2 separate regions of the Homo sapiens genome follow, and region 1 is linked to region 2. Evidence: promoter capture Hi-C in human tissues and cell types (Jung and others, 2019). All regions are on one chromosome and are shown on one strand. The core of a region is centred on a gene start or on the middle of the fragment in contact, and the rest is flanking DNA. Distances in the headings are between cores, read along the strand shown. Region 1 holds the start of OR51T1 (olfactory receptor family 51 subfamily T member 1). Region 2 holds the start of OR52R1 (olfactory receptor family 52 subfamily R member 1).

Region 1 (2,700 bases), core at 9-2,508, 78 kb before region 2:
ACTATATTAAAGTGACTAGTCTGCTTTTATATGCACAGGAGTCATGTCATTGTTTAAAATGGTTCAGGGACATATGCTCAATTAATTTGGTTTAAATTATGGTATTAAAAATTAAAAATAAAACTCTTTGATAAGCTCAGGGGAAAATTACTGTCTTCTTCCCACTCCTAAAATTCAATTGGAATTGACTCAGCAACCAAAACACCTGTGGATAAGACTGCCCCAAGTCCCTTTCTTTCCAAAGCATAATTCGTGTCCTGACAATTTCCTACCTTCAATCCCATCTTCCCCTAAGACCCCTCACATTAAAACCCCATGAACCCTTGGATTGGAGCAGCTGGAACATAGCCTGGCGGATTGTCTTGGTCTTCAAGCTGTAAATGATAGGGTTCAGCACAGGTGGTAAGAGCAGATAAATATTGGCCAAAGTGCTACAGAGCACCCTTGGGGTGGAGTGGAAGAGGCGGTGTGCCAAAGAGAGGCTGATCAGTGGCACATAGAAAATAGTGACTGCACAGATGTGACAGACACAAGTGCTGAGAGCTTTTTGTTGCTTCTTTCGGGCCACAATGCCCAGAACAGTACGGAGGATCAGGACATAGGAGAAAAGAATAAACAATACGTCAGTGCCATTCAGGTAGAGCTGAAGAAACAGTCCCCAAAAACTGCTGATCCAAGGTTTGGAATATGTGTATTTGATCACTTCTGGGTGGTAGCAAAATGGATGGGAAAGCTCGTGACCCCCATGAAAAGACACAGTGTTTATGGCTACAAGAAGGGGAAGTAAGAAAACTGCTGGTCTAATGCAGATGACCAGCCCTATCACCAGGACCATCCTGTCTGTGAGGATAGTAGCATAGTTCAGTGGGTTACAGATAGCCACGAAGCGGTCAAAGGCCATGGCTACCAGCACCGAGGACTCCAGCAAGGAGAAAGCATGCACAAAGAACATTTGAATGAAGCAAGCTTTAAAGCTGATCTCCCGGGCATGAAACCAGAGAACACCAAGCACAGTGGGAAGGGTCGTAATGGTCAGACATAGATCAACAGCTGCCAGCATGGAGAGGAAATAATACATGGGTTTGTGGAGTCTCCGCTTAGTAATGATGACAAGAAAGATCATACTGTTTCCCAAGAGGGCAATGGTGTAGAGACAGCAGACTGGAATGGAGATCCAGACATGAGCACATTCCAGCCCAGGGAATGCAGTGAGGAGGAAGTTTGAGGAAGACGAAGTGGTGTTATTGAATATTGCCATGGTTGGTTGAAGACACTGAACTATGAGGAAAGAAAAATAATTAAGATTCTTTATATATATAGCATACATTTTATTAGTCATTTTATATACAATTTTAAATTTAAGGTAGTTATTTTTCTTCTGTTTTAAAGAAAGGAAATGGACCCAGGAAGGTTAAATAGTATATCTAGGCTAAAATAGTTCAATACAGATTCAAATTCAAAACCAAATTTACTAACTCCAAAGTCTATTATTTTTTACTAAACTTCAGATGATCAGAGAGGCCAGGCTAATGAGACAATTTGGATAGCTGAATGTTGTAATTTCCTTCCTTTAAAATACAATTTTTTAATATCCTTTTATACTTGTATATGATGTACAGGAGGGGTAGAGATGAGAAATAAGCAAAATAGAGAACTATGTTCTCATGACTCATCTAAAGAAGAATGTTTGTGGAGTCCAAGTGTTTTTAAAATTATGTATAAAAGTCTACATATGTTTGTATTGTTTTTGTCTTCACGTGCAGATGAATGCAGAGGGCATTTGGGGGTGCAAAAGTAACTGAGCGATGAGATGCTTATAAAGCAGATATCAGTTATCCTCTGTTCTTGGAATGATATCTCATAAAGGCAAAGAAATGACACTGGATAATGCAAGGCGGTAAGAGGAGAGGAGACAGTGGTTCCGTTTGCTGCTGGGGAAATCTTTCCTGTGGAATGGAGACAGAAGAAGAAGCAGAGGGCTTTCTCTCTGTGAGGTCATACACTCTGGAGCCAGTGGTAGGTCAAAGTTCAGTGCCTAAATTTATCAAGGTTTTCTCAACATTGCTGGCTAACCAGAGCAATATATTAGTGCTTTCTCTCTTCAGGTACAAGTCTCCATCTGACTGGCCAGGAAGAAGGTAGCATCTGCCCATTCATATACAGAAGACCAGGTGAAATTATTTGAATAACACTCACTCAACTCAATAACAGAGTGACCCAAAGGTCAACATCCCTATTTTCTGGCATCAGTAATGTTACAGACCCATCCTCTTCATTTACCAACCCCTACCTTCTGTTAATTTGTTAACACTGAATTATATTTCCTCCACAATTCAGAATATACCCTGAAAGTTCCCTGACATATTAAGCTAAAACTACCCTCTGCTTCAATCTTTGCCCCACATTTTGCTTGGACCTTTCCCTTGGTGCTTAATAATGAGGCACAACTGATATTGGTAATTTATATATCCAAGTACTGTGTTCTTCTGCCAGAAGTTTGAGATTCTTGAAAGTTTGGGAATGCACGTTTTTAATCTCTCAATGCTAGTTACTAAAGCAGGATCAGGAAAAACAGAAATCTTCATTTAGCAACATTGATTGATTACCAAACAATTATGGCCACAGAAAGGGAGTTTTGAGTCCTATCGTCTTTTGCCTTTTTCTCTTCTTTCTCCTCCTGTCTTCTCTCTCCCATCTCAA
Region 2 (2,700 bases), core at 85-2,584:
TTAGAATATTGTTAATCAGTTAATGAGTCTGCTGCCTTTGAATAATGACATTTATTTGCTACTTTCCTCAGGAATATTTTATTAAATTCCTACTCTGCACCAAGCACAGAGATGCTAGAGATAGTGTGGGGTTCACAGCTGACTTCATGAAAAATTCCTCTTCTAGGACAGAGGTTGGCAAACTATAGCCTGGAAACCAACACCTGCTTGCAACCCATTTTTGTAAACAAAGGTTTATTGGAACACACCACACTCACACATTTATGTGTTGACTATGGTTACTTTCACACTACAATGGCTGAATTGATCTGCTGCAACAGACAGTATAGGCCACAATTTCTCAAAATTTTGTGATCTCACTTTTTAAAGAAAAAAAGTTTGCTAACTTCTTGTCTAGGAGAAACCTACACTAAAGATAATAAATTAAATTATAAATGTACAATTGGTCAGTAGATTAACTTCCCACCCAAGCCCTTGTGGTAACTGACCTAGATTCAAAGCTAACTTCAAAGCAATACATAAATTGCTATAGGCTTGCAAACTCTACTGACTTCCTACTCTGAGAAATTGGCCAAGTGGCTAACCAGAGGTTTAAAAAGGACCTGTGGAAAAGTTTAAGCTAATCAGCTGTTAGTTCTATAGAACTGAAGAGCAAGAATTACTATAATATTACTTGTCATGATGATTTTCCCTTAGCAGATGCTACTTTCAAGAAAAATATTGATTCATTTTTTTTTTTTTTTTTTGAGGCGGTTTCGCTCTGACACCCAGGCTGGAGTGCAGTGGTGTGAGCTCAGCTCACTGCAACGTCCAACTCCTGGGTTCAAGTGATTTTCCTTCCTCAGCCTCCTGAGTAGCTGGGACTATAGGCGTGCTCTACCATGCCTGGCTAATGGGGTTTTTTTTTGTTTTGTTTTGTTTTTGTATTTTTAATAGAAAAGGGGTTCCACTATGTCAGCCAGGCTGGTCTTGAACTCCTGACCTCAAGCAATCTGCCTGCCTCAGCCTCCCAAAGTGCTAGGATTATAGGTGTAAGCCACCACACCTGGTCAAGAAAAATATTGATTCTTAAAAAACAGTTACACATGCAACTAGTATGTTCTACCCCATTTTGAATGACATAAGTACGAAAAACAACAGTAACATCATGTCATGTTGTAACATATTATTTATTAAAACAGTTGAAATTATTCTAGTTTATAATCAAACCCAATCACCCTGGTATCCAATAGTCCCATCCAAAAGCCTTGTATATAATAATAACACTTGTTTTGATTGTTATCATCTGCAGAGAGTAGATTGCGTTCCCAGCAGAGACCATATTAACCAGTCCATGGTGCTGGCTTCAGGGAACAGCTCTTCTCATCCTGTGTCCTTCATCCTGCTTGGAATCCCAGGCCTGGAGAGTTTCCAGTTGTGGATTGCCTTTCCGTTCTGTGCCACGTATGCTGTGGCTGTTGTTGGAAATATCACTCTCCTCCATGTAATCAGAATTGACCACACCCTGCATGAGCCCATGTACCTCTTTCTGGCCATGCTGGCCATCACTGACCTGGTCCTCTCCTCCTCCACTCAACCTAAGATGTTGGCCATATTCTGGTTTCATGCTCATGAGATTCAGTACCATGCCTGCCTCATCCAGGTGTTCTTCATCCATGCCTTTTCTTCTGTGGAGTCTGGGGTGCTCATGGCTATGGCCCTGGACTGCTACGTGGCTATCTGCTTCCCACTCCGACACTCTAGCATCCTGACCCCATCGGTCGTGATCAAACTGGGGACCATCGTGATGCTGAGAGGGCTGCTGTGGGTGAGCCCCTTCTGCTTCATGGTGTCTAGGATGCCCTTCTGCCAACACCAAGCCATTCCCCAGTCATACTGTGAGCACATGGCTGTGCTGAAGTTGGTGTGTGCTGATACAAGCATAAGTCGTGGGAATGGGCTCTTTGTGGCCTTCTCTGTGGCTGGCTTTGATATGATTGTCATTGGTATGTCATACGTGATGATTTTGAGAGCTGTGCTTCAGTTGCCCTCAGGTGAAGCCCGCCTCAAAGCTTTTAGCACACGTTCCTCCCATATCTGTGTCATCTTGGCTCTTTATATCCCAGCCCTTTTTTCTTTCCTCACCTACCGCTTTGGCCATGATGTGCCCCGAGTTGTACACATCCTGTTTGCTAATCTCTATCTACTGATACCTCCCATGCTCAACCCCATCATTTATGGAGTTAGAACCAAACAGATCGGGGACAGGGTTATCCAAGGATGTTGTGGAAACATCCCCTGAGCAAAGGGTCAGTGTATCCCCATCACTTACATTGCCCCACTAATGTGGGGACATTAATGAACATTTGACAGGCTATTACTTATTATCACTAAGTCAGCTCTGTAAATAACTGGCTCAGAGGTAAGCAACCCTCTAGAGGCAAGAGAAACAATTTTCAGGGTACCTAGAAAAGAGATACCTGAGAGATGTGATGGATAAGAACAACTTTGTTGACTACATATTCATCATCACATGGAAACAATAAAAGTAGTTTTACCTATTAAATCAGTGAATATTTTAAAAGAATGTCATCTCCCACAGATGATTAAGGTAAAAAAGTTGTTTTTACACTGTCAGTAGAAGTAGGTACACTTTGCTTAAAAGAAATTTAGAAATTTACATCAAATAATTTAAAAGTACATATATTTCTTCATCTGAGA

The links. The method cuts DNA at HindIII sites, captures the fragments that hold promoters and counts their contacts. A contact is called where the count stands out against the background at its distance.
Region 1: the fragment with the promoter of OR51T1 here is called in contact with the fragment with the promoter of OR52R1 in region 2 in 2 of the 25 tissues and cell types used here (ovary and stomach).

Annotation. Positions count from the first base shown.
Region 1 is chr11:4,880,458-4,883,157 of GRCh38, reverse strand. OR51T1 (olfactory receptor family 51 subfamily T member 1) reads right to left here and starts at 1,258. Exons shown (of 1, transcript NM_001004759.3): 1 at 275-1,258. The coding sequence starts at 1,258. The coding sequence ends at 275. The region is part of intron 2 of MMP26 (matrix metallopeptidase 26); the gene reads right to left. The HindIII fragment of the contact is 5,093 bases long and covers 1-2,700 here.
Region 2 is chr11:4,803,014-4,805,713 of GRCh38, reverse strand. OR52R1 (olfactory receptor family 52 subfamily R member 1) reads left to right here and starts at 1,334. Exons shown (of 1, transcript NM_001005177.3): 1 at 1,334-2,281. The coding sequence starts at 1,334. The coding sequence ends at 2,281. The region is part of intron 2 of MMP26 (matrix metallopeptidase 26); the gene reads right to left. The HindIII fragment of the contact is 16,304 bases long and covers 1-2,700 here.